Regions from separate parts of the Homo sapiens genome. Here regions 2, 3 and 4 are each linked to region 1. Evidence: promoter capture Hi-C in 16 types of primary human blood cells and fetal thymus (Javierre and others, 2016). All regions are on one chromosome and are shown on one strand. The core of a region is centred on a gene start or on the middle of the fragment in contact, and the rest is flanking DNA. Distances in the headings are between cores, read along the strand shown. Region 1 holds the start of SIGLEC8 (sialic acid binding Ig like lectin 8). Region 2 has its middle 9.2 kb from the start of MIR99B. Region 3 has its middle 3.4 kb from the start of LINC01530. Region 4 overlaps IGLON5 (IgLON family member 5).

Region 1 (3,407 bases), core at 245-2,744:
TGTTTCAAGAAAATTGACCTGAGTCTAAGGAGGCTCCGCCTCCCAGGATCCCCCTTAACTTCTTCCCAGCCCCCAGCCACACAGTTTAAAATAATCTGTTGAGGCCAGGCACGGTGGCTCACACCTGTAATCCCAGCACTTTGGGAGGCTGAGGTGGGTGGATCATGAGGTCAGGAGATCCAGACCATCCTGGTCGACATGGTGAAACCCCGGCTCTACTAAAAATACAAAAATTAGCTGGATGTGGTGGCGTATGCCTGTAATCCTAGCTACTTGGGAGGCTGAGGCAGGAGAATCGCTTGAACCAGGGAGTCAGAGGTTGCAGTGAGCCGGGATCGCGCCACTGCACTCCAGCCTGGCGACAGAGAGAGACTCCGTCTCAAATAATAATAATAATAATAATAATAATAATCATCATCATCATCATCATCATCATCATCATCTGTTGAATTCAGGTGCACATTTCTTCTCTCAAGAAATCCTGCCCATCGCTGAAGGTGCACACCCCAGGGCTGGTGTCCTCGTTCCATGACACCTGTTCACCTGGACCCCTGGAAGCAGAGCCTGCAGGAGCAAAGCCCCAGGGCTGACAGACCCCGCCTGCTGTGCAGTAACCAGGGGAAGTGTGGCTGAGTAAGATACGGGTGGTGAAGAAACCCATTCTGATACCCAGATAGCTGCAACAAAGGGAGAAGTGTGTGCCCTTTTCAAATTGACCCTTTCCCTTCTGACATTTCTCCCTTCCAAACCCCACAGTACAACAGTTACAGCCTCAGTTTCCCAGGCCTCCTGCGAGCCAGGCTTCCCCCCGCCCCCCGTCCTTCGTGTGTATCAACATGCAGAATCCTCACCTCCACAGCCCCGTGTCCCTCTGCTCAGGCCTCCTGAGACTGAACCCCTGACCTAGGGGAGAACGACCCCACCTTGCCTGTGCCCCCCACTGAAGCTCCCGTCCTGGGGAGCTCAGACGTCAGGAGCCTCCGTGTCTCCCCTCTGCACAGTGACTCCTTGAGGACAGTGTCTGGCTCTGCTCTGTTGACCTCGTTGTGTAAAGAGGAGGTGCCCACTTCGTTGCTGCTGAGAGAGGGAGGAGAGGCTGCCTGCTCACCTCACCTGCACCCCAGTCTCTCATGGCCCTGAGTTCCACCTTTGGCTGGTATGACCTCCACAAACAGTGACAGCCCCGGGGGTGATTCAGGGGTCTGGCCAGATGGGACCCAATTTCACCTTGCAGAAAATGTTACCCAAATGGAAGGGCAAGTCCGGGAAGCAAGAAAGAGGTTGGGCCCTGCATAGGGTGGGAATCTGGATGAGTTTCTCACCCTCTCTGGCCTCAGGGTTCCCAGGAGTGGAAATGGGGTGGTGGACAGTGGATCTCCCAGGACTGACCCGGCCCTGACAGTGTCTGTGTGTGAAGTTCCTCCTCTGAGGAGGTCACTTTTCTGACTTCACCCCCAACCTCCTGCGGGACCTCCCCTAAGTCTTGAGACCTCAGTTTCTGAGAGAAGAACCCTGAGGAACAGACGTTCCCTGGCGGCCCTGGCGCCTTCAAACCCAGACATGCTGCTGCTGCTGCTGCTGCTGCCCCTGCTCTGGGGGACAAAGGGGATGGAGGGAGACAGACAATATGGGGATGGTTACTTGCTGCAAGTGCAGGAGCTGGTGACGGTGCAGGAGGGCCTGTGTGTCCATGTGCCCTGCTCCTTCTCCTACCCCCAGGATGGCTGGACTGACTCTGACCCAGTTCATGGCTACTGGTTCCGGGCAGGAGACAGACCATACCAAGACGCTCCAGTGGCCACAAACAACCCAGACAGAGAAGTGCAGGCAGAGACCCAGGGCCGATTCCAACTCCTTGGGGACATTTGGAGCAACGACTGCTCCCTGAGCATCAGAGACGCCAGGAAGAGGGATAAGGGGTCATATTTCTTTCGGCTAGAGAGAGGAAGCATGAAATGGAGTTACAAATCACAGTTGAATTACAAAACTAAGCAGCTGTCTGTGTTTGTGACAGGTAAGGCACGGGCTCCAGCACAGGCCACAGGGGAAGGTCATGAGGGGCTGAAAGGCAGGGCTGGGATGGGGCCTGGGAGGGGGTTGGGATTGAAATAAGTCGGTCTCCGGGGAGGAGCTGGACCAGAGCTTGAGCTTCCTCCAGGGCTGCACCTGAAATACCTCCTCCTGATCCTGTGTCCCCATCTTCACCAGCCCTGACCCATAGGCCTGACATCCTCATCCTAGGGACCCTAGAGTCTGGCCACTCCAGGAACCTGACCTGCTCTGTGCCCTGGGCCTGTAAGCAGGGGACACCCCCCATGATCTCCTGGATTGGGGCCTCCGTGTCCTCCCCGGGCCCCACTACTGCCCGCTCCTCAGTGCTCACCCTTACCCCAAAGCCCCAGGACCACGGCACCAGCCTCACCTGTCAGGTGACCTTGCCTGGGACAGGTGTGACCACGACCAGTACCGTCCGCCTCGATGTGTCCTGTGAGTGCTGGACCAAGATGCCCAGGTCCCTCATGGGTTGGGAGGTGTTCCTGAGGGCAGGGGATGGGGTTCAAGCCTGGACACTGGGTTCTGGGTCCCAGAATCTGGGCTGGGAGTGGGGTCAGGAGAATGCCGACTCCATTTTCCCTGTATTTGCAGCTCCTGGGAAGACAGGGCCAATGTCCCCAGTCCTTATAGTAATGTGGGTCTTCATGTCTTTCTGTCCCAGACCCTCCTTGGAACTTGACCATGACTGTCTTCCAAGGAGATGCCACAGGTAGGACAGAGCCCCCTCCCTGGGGTTGGGGGAGCAGGGCCTTCAGCTCAGGATGGGGCTGGGTCTCTCCTCATCCTGGAATCACTTTGGGAAACAGAGCTGCCACTGTGCGTGAGCCCAGGGCACAAGAGCCCACATCTCCAGCCCGCGTGACCATCTGAGCCCCTGTCCCCATCCTGTCCCTGCTCCCCTTAGACTCCTCCACACACCCCTTCCTTGGCCCCACAGCAAGGACAGGGTGACATTCACACAGCTGGATCAGACTCCCAATTTTTTTGGTTTTTGTTCGTTTTTATTTTGGGACCAGACTTTCAAGTTTCTTGTCAGGCATCTCCTGAATACTTCCTCTGTCTGATCTTTCTGTTTTCCCAGTAGTTTCGATCTAAGTACTTCTGCCCAGATGATACAGTCACATGGGCAGAAATTCAAAATGCACAGCAAAGTCTGTCCTCCAGTGCCCATCCCCCTCCACGGAACTGACCAGCGTCCGTCCAGGCTGCCCTGAGTCTTGGTTTGTGCACCTGGAGGATCTCAGAGGTGGTTTGACATCGTAGTGAGACTGTCCACCCCGTCCTCTAGGACCGTGTGTGATTTCACTGCACAGATGGACTCTGACTTTGTGGCATCCCTTAAGGAAAATCAT
Region 2 (3,407 bases), core at 608-3,107, 220 kb before region 1:
AACTGGTAGACAGGAGGACACCTTAACCTACCTTGAATTAGGTCTGAGTCAAGGACTTACACGTTGATACTATAGAACAGGCGGCACCGGGTCATGAGGAACATCAAAGTAGCAGAGAATCCTTCCATGTGAGGGATCAACCCTAAAACCAAGATAATCCGATAGCACCACCAGACAATCCTTCCATGTGGGGGGATCAACCCCAAACCCAAGATAATCCTAGAGCACCACATAATCCCTGCAGGTGGGATAATCCCCACACTGGCAGAGCCTAAAATCACGAGATGATCTAAATCAAGCTTGTCCAACCCACAGCCCATGGGCCTCATGTGGCCCAGGATGGCTTTGAATGTGGCCCAACACACATTCATAAACTTTCTTAAAACATTGAGGTTTTGGGTTTTTTTTGCAAATTTTTTTAAGCTCATCAGCTATCATTAGTGTTAATGTATTTTATGTGCAGCCCAAGACAATTCTTCCAGTTTGGCCCAGGGAAGCTGAAAGATTGGACACCCCTGAACTAAAAGCAGCAGATTCTCCTATTACACCATTAAATAACCCCAAATGGTAATTTGCCCCTGGTGGACTTGTAGGAAGTAGAGACAGGGTCCCCATTGTTGTCGGGTCTGGGCTGGGGGAAGTGGGGAGGCAACAGATCTCATTTCCACAATTAATTATTTTCTGAACAAAGGGCATGGGAAAATGGGTGTGATGTTTTGGGGAGGGTTTCCCTATAGCCTTTCTCTTCACCTTGGGCCATACCTTCTTTTTGTTTGATGAGTGAAGGACCTTCAGCTGCTCTGCTGTTTACATCTAAGAAAAAGGTAGGGAAGGTTACACTGAGGTTCAAGGAGACAGACTAGTTATAGTTTTTGCAAGTCCGTCAGCTGCCATCTCCTCCTACCTCTGATAATAGATCATCTCTTTCCTTTAAGTAACCCACTCCACATGACTCTGACAAGAATGTCCAAGCACTGATGCCCCTCCTTCTCCCCCCAAAAAAACCTAGTCTGGGCATCTGGGTATATGACACAAAATAGGCCAACCAGAATATTTATCATTCATTGTCTGTGAGCCCTGACAGAGCTGGTTAGAATCCAAGATTTTATTTTTGATCTTGATACTTTAATTTTATGTCTTCTAAAATATAAATGTATACATATGCATTTGTACACATATATATTGTTTTAGTTTCTGAAGAACAGAGTCATACTACATATGCCAAGGTGATTAAGAGCACAGATTCTGAAGCCCGATGGCTCAGGTTTGAATCCTGGCTCAGCCATTTTACTAGCTATGTCTCTCTATGTCTCAGTTTCATCATCAGTAAAATGGGTGTAATAATAATAGTACCTATATCATGGGTTGAGACATAAGGATTAAAGGAGTTAATGTATGGAAAGTGCTTAAAACAGTGCCTGGCACACAATAAACCATATAAAAGAATTATCGAATGTTATGCCTACAAATTAATACAGAGCTAGCTCTTTATTCTAATTTATTCATACACATGCACAGAATTTTATATTAACAGGGCAATTTATTCTTATGAAGGTATTTTTACTGTATTCTTTCCCATCCTCATTTATTTTTTTCTTTGGTTACCTTGATTGACCCCTCCCTTCCTACCCATTCACCAGGTGCTTCTCCTCCCAAAGTTATCTGTCATACCTGTTGTGAGTTAAATTGTGTCCCCACCCCACCAAATATATATGTTAAAGTTTGAATCCCCTGTACCTGTGAATGTGACCTTCTTTGAGAGCCTTTACAGATGTAATCAAGTTAAAATGAAGGCATACTGGATTAGAGTGGGCCCTAAATCCAATGACTGGTAATCTGATAAGGAGAGAGATATTTGAAGATGCAGATAAAATACTTGGGAAGAAGGCCATGTGATGATGGAGGCAGAGAGATTCAAGTGATGCATCTACAAGCCAAGAAACACCAAGGATGACTGGCAACCACCAGAAGCTAGAACAAGAAACCAAGGGGCCTACAGAGGAAGCTGGTCCTGCTGATACCTTCATTTCTAACTTCTAGCCTCCACATCTGCGAGAGAATACATTTCTGTTTTTGCTTGTTTGTTTTGAGGTGGAGTCTCCCTCTGCCACCCAGGCTGGAGTGCAGTGGCATGATCTTGGCTCACTGCAGTCTCCACCTCCTGGGCTCAAGTGAGTCTCCTGCCTCAGCCTCCCAAGTAGCTGGGACTACAGTCACCTGCCACCATGCCTGGCTAATTTTCGTATTTTTAGTAGAGACAGGATCTTACCATGTTGGCTAGGCTGGTCTCAAACGCCTGACCTCAAGTGATCTGCCCGCCCTCAGTCTCCCAAAGTACTGGGATTACAGGCATGATACACTGTGCCCGGATAATTTCTGTTGTTTTAAGCTGCTCAGTTTATAATACTTTATTACAACAGCCCTAGAAAACCAATATAGTATCCATGTTTATCTGTGTGTCTTGTCATTCTTTACTTCATGTTTAAGTAAACATACATACACACACAAACATGCACATAGTTGGGTTGCATTAAAATTCAGCTTCAGCCTCAATATTTGTTCATTTTTTTCTATTTGACTTTGATCTCACCTCAGTCTTTTGGAGGTGGAACCACTGAGTGCCAATTTGAAGTTCATTTCTGGCATCCCTGAACTTGTGTGGTCACGATGAATACATGACAGATTGGGTTACCAGCCTATCTAACTAGCACAATAACATTAGAAATATGAACAAATCATGTTCCTAACTTTAAAATCTTAATAGTCACCTTCAAATTTAAGCATTCTAATGTAGCTTGGAGTGAACATCGTGTGTGTGTTCAAAGTTAAATTTTTATCAAAGTATAAATGTGTGTGTAATTATACAATTACAGGAGTAAGAGGCTGAAATAAATAATGGTGATTGTGAAAACCTATAAGTTACAGATGATTCTTCAGGAAACTGACTCTGAAGCAGAGGTTAGAACTCCCCTACAAGTGTGAATCCTGAGAACACCCCTATTAATTTCCTGCTCTCAGGATTCACACTCGTAGGGGAGCGAAGGAAGTAGGATTAGGCAGTGGGAGAAGGTGAACTACTATGCAGTCATAACAGAAGCCCCAGCCAATCCTACAGGAAACTCTACAGCTAGATGGCTCCACAGAGATGTCCTGAATCGGGGAAAGGGGACTGGGCCTTTATACCATTCACTGACCTATTAAAAGAAGAACTTCAGACAAATTAAATTGAACACAGTTTATTTGAGTAGAGAACAATTCATGAGTAGGGCAACACTCAGAATCAGAAGAGCAGTGAGCTTGTATAAGCTGAACACAGAAGCAAAGTAGAGAAATCATCTGGTTGGCTACAGCAAGACATTTGCCTTATTTGGGCACGGATATGATCAGTTAGCTGCCTGTGATTGGTT
Region 3 (3,407 bases), core at 640-3,139, 140 kb before region 1:
AAGGTAGCCCCTCTACCTGCCAATGTGTGTACCAATGTGTCCAGAATTGGTTCCTTCCCCTGGGTTCTTGGTCTCGCTGACTTCAGGAGTGAAACCGCAGACCTTCGCAGTGTTACAGCTCATAAAGGTAGTGCGGACCCAAAGAGCGAGCTGCAGCAAGATTTATTGTGAAGAGCAAAAGCACAAATCTCCCACAGCGTGGGAGGGGACCCAAATGAGTTGCCGCTGCAGGCTCGGTGGCTAGCTTTTATTCCCTTATTTGGCCCCACCCACATTCTGCTGATTGGTCCATTTTACAGAGCACTGATTGGTTCATTTTACAGAGCGCTGATTGGTCCATTTTACAGAGTGCTTATTGGTCTGGTTTTACAGAGTGCTGATTGGTCTGGTTTTATAGAGTGCTGATTGGTGCGTTTACAAACCTTTAGCTAGACACAGAGCACTGATTGGTGTGTTTACAATCTTTTAGCTGGACGGAAAAGTTCTCCAAGTGCCCACCTGACCCAGAAGCCCAGCCAGCTTCATCTCTCACTAAGATGATGTCAGAGACCCAGAGGCTTGAAAAACCTGCCTTACTCCATCGTAGGGAGCCACACGTACTACCCACATGAGCCTTCAGTAGGCTCCGGCCCTAAATAGGCACATGCGTATTTCCCCAGCTCCTTACTGGGATCCTCCCGCTAAGCCACGCCCGATGCCCTTGTCTACAGCCATGAGCTGCAGTAAGATGCCCAGGCCCGGTGCCAGCGTGCGCAGCACGTGTGCCAGCACCGTGGAATCCTTGCCGCCCGAGGTGCCCAGGGCCACCACTGCGCCTGGCGGCAGCAGGTAGCCCACAAGCACCATGTGCTGCACCTCCGCCTCGAAGGCGGTGCAGAAGCAGGAACCGCACAGCACTTGGCCCGAGCATGGACGGCGGAGGGAGGCGCATGCCACGTGGCAGGAGGCACATGACGGGGCGGGCATTGCAAGAAGGGACAGCTTCTCCTAGACCGGGAGAGGAGGCGGGTTACACATGTTTCATTGCCTTTGAGGAGTTCCCTAGATAGTGCCCCTGCCTGGAATAGACCAGGGGCAGCTGTGGCTGCTGCTCTTATATACGTGGGTTATAAATGGGTTCTGGTGTAAGAAGGCCACTGCCTCCAGGAAGGCTTCCTGGACTGCACCCATTATGCACCAAGAAGAGAAGGAACTTAAGCTGATTTCAGGGGGAAAAAGAGGGAGCAACAAGCAGGTTATACCCAGAATTAGATCGTGTCCTGTCCAAAGGGGTGAGGGCGTCTATTAAGGACCAGTTGTAACAACTTCCAGGAGGCCACCCATGTTACAGCCCTGATCAGAAGGTAGATATTACTGACTATTCAGAGAGATTGGGAGGGGAGGGGTCAGAGACTCTTAAGGACAGAGGGAGGTCATGCTCTGTTCAAGGGAAGGGGGCTATACAGAAAAGACCAATTGGATTTCACTTTCAGGGGTCGGGGTGGGCATTCTGTCTCCAGGAATGGGTCCTGATTGTGTCTTACAAGGACATACACAGGCAGGCTAGATCAACCTCTAGGGAGACTAGCAGGGGTTGCACCTATTTTTGAGGTGAGGGTGTGTAGGCCTCCAGTTCTGAACTTAACCCCGCTCTGGTATCAGAATCCACCTAAGCTTCTGTGGCCCCCGAAAGACACAGAGAGGTTGGGAGGGGAGGGGTCAGTGATGGGGTTGGCTCATCCTTGGCCCCCAACTGTTCTCTTTCCTACCTCATCCCTCCCCACCCAGCCAAGACTCTAACTGTCCCATCGAACCTCCTTCGTCCCACTTGTCTGGTGAACCCATAAAAACTCCCCAGGCTTAGTCCCCCTCCTCAAGCCACCACCACCTCCAGCCTGCACTACTGCCGTCACATCCTTGCCATTCAGAGCAGGTCACGCTGCTTCTAGGATTTACCACAATGTGTGGAATTATTTCATATGACTGTGTATTTACCGTCTCTAACTTACATGCAAGTAAAGACCAGTGCCACTCAGATGTCTAATAAGCATCTCAAAACCCAAATTCCTGATTCCTCTAACCTAACGGGCTTCTCCTGGAGTACAGGGCAGCTCCATCCCTTCCAGCTGCTCAGGCCAGAAGCTTTGGGGTCCAGGACCCTGGACTGCTCTTTCTATCACTACAGTTGTCACTCTCCCAGTGGGTGGAGCCAAATTGCAATGCTAAGTCCGGACCCTTTCAAACTCCAGGTGCTCAAATGAAAAGTCACACATATTGTTTGACTATAGCTTCAAAACAGCCAAACACTTCTGACCATCTCCATGGCAGCACCCTAGTCAGGTCTGCCTCTCTCCTAGATGGCTGCAGGGGGCTCCTCACAGGTCTCCATGCTCCCTGCCTTGCCTCCTCCACACACACTCCTTCATATAACAGCCAGTGGGATCCTGCCCTGCATCTCATCTCACTTTAGTAACTACTGGCTGGGCACAGTGGCTCACGCCTGTAATCCCAGGACTTTGGGAAGCCGAAGCGGGTGGATCACAAGGTCAGGAGTTCAAGACCAGTCTGGCCAAGATGGTGAAACCCTGTCTCTACTAAAAATACAAAAAAATTAGCTGGGCATGGTGGTGGGCACCTGTAATCCCAGCTACTTGGGAGGCTGAGGCAGAGAATTGCTTGAACCTGGGAGGCGGAGGTTGCAGTGAGCCGAGATCGTGCCATTGCACTCCAGCCTGGGTGACAGAGCGAGACTCTGTCTCAAAAAAACAAAAAACAAAATGTAACTGCTAATGGCCGACGAGGCCCTACAGGCTCTGGCTCCTTGTTTCTCTGTCCTCATCTCCTTCCACTCTCCTTCTTGCTTACTGGTGTCTACTCTTGAGTACCCCCAGGAACACTCTTGTCTCTAGTTGTTTTCACTGGCTCTTCTCTTTGCCCAAAGCACTCTTCCCTGTCACTGAGCCATCAAGCAGCCCTCAGGACTCAACTGCGGTGATGTCAGGTACATCTGTCACAGCGGAGCAAAGTCCCCTTTGAAATACTTTCTCCCACAGCTTTTGATTTAGTCCTCCCTCTTTGTTCTTGTTTTTTGCCTCCTGCTTAATATCTTCTGGGGAGGCCTCTTCACAGTCCTCATATCCTGCCCATCACCCCTCTTCTCATTCTGTTTGTGGGTGACTCTGAATCGCAATGTCCACCAGCCTGGCCCTCCAAATGCCCCACGGAAGATCCCATCTAGGCCTCTCATATCTCAGTGCCCAACTGACCAGCTCTCACACCCCAAGGCAGAAACTTACCTAACCAAGCTCCCCGTCTCCCGGAAGCAACACCACCTTTCACCCAGCTTCTCTATGGAAGACAACTCAGCTTTTTCAACCTCTGAATCTGCAGTCACCTAGTACTGGGGTTCACTTCCTGAGGTCCTTATC
Region 4 (3,407 bases), core at 553-3,052, 130 kb after region 1:
AACAACTCAAATGTGGGCAACCAGCATCTGTCTCAGGGAAGGAAAGCATGTGAGAGAATTTCTGGTTAATGATTGGGGGTAGAAAAGGCCATTGGAAAATAGAACCCCTGGATCCTTTTGGAAAGGTGAGGGTTGGGGTTCTGGGCCTTCTATGTCTCTTCTGTATCTATTATGGTTTTCATTCTCTTTTTTATTACTAGAGATAGAAAATCCAATGCAAATTGGTTTAAATATACAGGGGACTTTATTGCTTATATAAGTGAAAATGGGCATCAGTTAAGTTTTGATCCAGCTGCTCAAATGATATATAATCATGGACTCAGTTTCTCTAAGGTTTCCACTCTGCCCTTCACAGTGTTCCTATCCTTCTCAGGCTCCATATGCTGTCCTCCCCACCATTGCTATCCCCACAGAGCCAAGATCTCTCCATGTGATGGAGAAAAGCAACCCTACAGATGTTGACTTCACATCACGGAGCCACAATATCCAGCAGAAAAGCATCTCTTCTTGGGAATCCATTCACTTTCTCATTAGCCTTACTGGGTCATGTGCCCATCTCTGAGCCAATCACGGTGGGAAATGGGCTATGCTGGGTGTCTTCGGCCAATCACAGGGCATCTCTGTAATGAGTCCATTCCAAGTCTACCAGTGAGAAAGTAGGCGGTAGGAATGATGCTGGAGAGGCACCACCAATTGACTGCTACCCTTTGCCCTTCATTAACTCTAATCCTTAATGACATTGACACCTGCAGGCAGACTTTGGAAAAAGGCGTTTATTGGTGTGGTGGTCTCAACACTCCCCATGAATTGGAACACATGGCCCCCAGGGCCCCCCACCCCCTCCCTAGCATCCCTCCCCTGTCCCACCCCATCCCCTGGACCCTGGGAATGGAAGACAATGTGGGATGGGGCCCATGCCCCCGTCTGAGGTACAGTCACTGCGCCTTGCCCTCTCCTTTTCTCCACCAGACTCTGGGTGGTGTGGTTTGGGGTGGGTGTTTATATAGAGGGTCTCCTGGGAGTCGGAGTTGGTGACATGGCATCTTTGTCTGGGCTCAGGATGTCTGTGTGATGCCTCTCTGTCCCCCACTTTGTGTGGTGTGGTGTACCAGGGTGGAGTGTTCCTACAGTCAGAGCTGAGGCTGCGGCCTCTCAGCGTCCCTTCCTGACACCAGATGCCTACCCAGGGGGAAATACAGCTAGTCACCAGCTACCGGACAGCTGGAGCCAGGGGGCTATTGCTGGTCACAGTCGCTGGTGTGTGTGTGTGTGTGTGTGTGTGTGTCTGTGTGTGTGTATGTGTGTGTGGTGCGTCTGAGTGTCTGTGAGGGCGGTCAGGTAGCCTTTGGGAGGTACAGTTGGTGGAGAGGCCAGGAAGTGATAGACCAGCAAGCTCACACCTGTGGGCCAGCTGCAAAGGCCCCAAGGGCAGCTGGCTGGTGCCGCAGGTGGGGAAATCAAGGCCAAGGGGAGTGGTGGCAAGGGTAGGGCAAAGCACTGAAACAGACAGGTGACTCCTGCCACCAGTCTGACAGTTGGATGGAAGCACCGATTGGCCCAGGAGGGGGCCAGAAAATCCAGGGTGTGGAGGGACAGGAAAAGTGGGAAGGTCTCAGGCCACTGAGCCAGCGATGGGGCCTCTGGCTACAGGAAGCTGGTGGTTGACAGCAGGGAAGCCCAGAGCCTAGATGGAGGTCCCCCACTTACTCACAAAGGCTGAATGACAGCTTGACAGGTGAGTGCGATGCCCCTCCCCACTCCCAACCTGCCAGGAGTTGCCCTTTCGACAGGGGGAGGGGTAGTGTGCGTGCATATATTGGGGAAGCAGGGAGCCTGGTAAGCCTCTCTTCACAGCTTCCACTGCAGAGCCTCATACCTACCTCCAGCCAGAGGTGAGAGGCAATAGGGTTGGGGACAGTGGACATGGGGGTTTTGGGGGCGGGAGGACGGCTGAGTCCCTTCCCCCAGCCCACCCCCCCACACACACACAAACAGAGACACAGACACCTACACATGCATGCAGGCTCACACTCACACACCCACACCCACACAAGCCAGTTGACAGCCTGAGCTAAGAGAGAGGGGTATGGGGTGGCGGGAGTGGGTCACAATCGGAAACGTGAACGGGTGGCGAGAATGGCTGTAGAAAGATGCATAATTTTGCGTTATCCCTCACAGTGATGGGTTCTCTGAAGATCTTTCTTCCTCTGCCTCCTCCTCTTCTCCTCTCTCTTCTTCCTTGGTGGCCGAGAGCTCTTCTGCCCCCACGAGACCCACGGCTCTTGCTCCCCCGTTTCTCTCACTCTTGGCCTGAGGCCCCCTGCAGGGGGAGGTGAGCTCCACTGGGTTGCGCCTACATTCTCCACCACAGCCAGCCCAGGGCGGAGAGGAGGGCCAGGAGCCCTGGGGGCCTCGGGGCTGAGTTCTCCAGGGATCCTGGGCCTGGGGGAAGAGAAGGGGTCATGGAGGGAGGCCTGAGAGTGGGGAACCCCATGTGTGTCTCTCCAGGGGCCCCATCTCTTCTGAGCCCACTCTTTAGCGTCCTTTCTGGATCTCTCATTGGGTGTGCCTGCTTTTCTGACTCTGTTTCTTTTTTTTTTTTTTTTTCTTTTTTTGAGACGGAGTCTCGCTCTGTCACCCAGGCGCAATCTCGGCTCACTGTAACCTCTGCCTCCCAGGTTCAAGCAATCCTCTTGCCTCAGCATCCTGAATAGCTAGGACCACAGGTGCCCATCACTACGCCTGGCTAATTTTTGTATTTTTTTTTTTTTTTGGTAGAGACATAGTTTCACCATGTTGGACAGGCTGGTGTCAAATTCCTGACTTCAGGTGATCAGCCCGCCTCGGCCTCCCAAAGTGCTGGGATTTACAGGCGTGAGCCACCACGCCCGGCCTCCAAAATTATTTTTTGTTTATGTATGTGTTTGCTTATTTACCTACATGACCACTTGTTTATTGCTTTTCTACTCCTACTAGACTATAAGCTCTGCGAATCCCCAAACCTTGTTTCTTTTGTGCACAGCTGCGTCCCCCACGACAAACCCTTAGCTGGCACTCAATGAATATTGATTGCGTGGATCGGTTTCTTACTCGCATTGCTTTTCAGTCTCAGCGTCCATCTCCTAAGTTCAGGGCCAGCCTGAAGGGCGGTCCCGGCGTCTCCACTTCCCTAGCCCCGCCCCCGGCCCCGCCCACCTTCCCGGCCCCGCCCCGCCCGAAGACGCACGCAGGAGCCGCATGGAGGCGCTGGACGCTCCCAGTCGGTTGGCGGCGCGACACGTATAGTTGCCGTAATGCCGGGCGCTCACGTTGGCAAAGAGAAGCATCGAGCGGGTGCGCTCCGTCTGCACCTTCAGGCCTTCGGCCGTGCCGCTGCTCAGCCTGCCAGGGATCCGGGTCAGGGGCCG

The links. Contacts are between HindIII fragments. The CHiCAGO score rates a contact against its expected background, and 5 or more counts as called.
Region 2: a fragment that was not itself captured here is called in contact with the fragment with the promoter of SIGLEC8 in region 1 in 7 of 17 cell types (erythroblasts, monocytes, total B cells and 4 more); the score reaches 8.4 in erythroblasts.
Region 3: a contact is called between a fragment that was not itself captured here and the fragment with the promoter of SIGLEC8 in region 1, in 1 of 17 cell types (erythroblasts). The highest score is 5.3, in erythroblasts.
Region 4: a contact is called between a fragment that was not itself captured here and the fragment with the promoter of SIGLEC8 in region 1, in 6 of 17 cell types (fetal thymus, neutrophils, erythroblasts and 3 more). The highest score is 6.0, in fetal thymus.

Annotation. Positions count from the first base shown.
Region 1 is chr19:51,456,541-51,459,947 of GRCh38, reverse strand. It overlaps SIGLEC8 (sialic acid binding Ig like lectin 8), which reads left to right and starts at 1,494. Exons shown (of 7, transcript NM_014442.3): 1 at 1,494-2,014; 2 at 2,209-2,487; 3 at 2,717-2,764. The coding sequence starts at 1,561. The HindIII fragment of the contact is 20,005 bases long and covers 1-3,407 here.
Region 2 is chr19:51,681,724-51,685,130 of GRCh38, reverse strand. It overlaps a transcript of SPACA6 not described here. Among named protein-coding and RNA genes, the nearest start is that of MIR99B, 9.2 kb to the left of the region's middle. The HindIII fragment of the contact is 3,112 bases long and covers 302-3,407 here.
Region 3 is chr19:51,596,103-51,599,509 of GRCh38, reverse strand. It overlaps the pseudogene LOC339352. Among named protein-coding and RNA genes, the nearest start is that of LINC01530, 3.4 kb to the right of the region's middle. The HindIII fragment of the contact is 468 bases long and covers 1,656-2,123 here.
Region 4 is chr19:51,327,706-51,331,112 of GRCh38, reverse strand. It overlaps IGLON5 (IgLON family member 5), which reads right to left. Exons shown (of 8, transcript NM_001101372.3): 7 at 3,227-3,381; 8 at 222-2,442. The coding sequence ends at 2,354. Among named protein-coding and RNA genes, the nearest start is that of VSIG10L-AS1, 11 kb to the left of the region's middle. RefSeq lists an enhancer at 1,933-2,855. The HindIII fragment of the contact is 3,886 bases long and covers 1-3,407 here.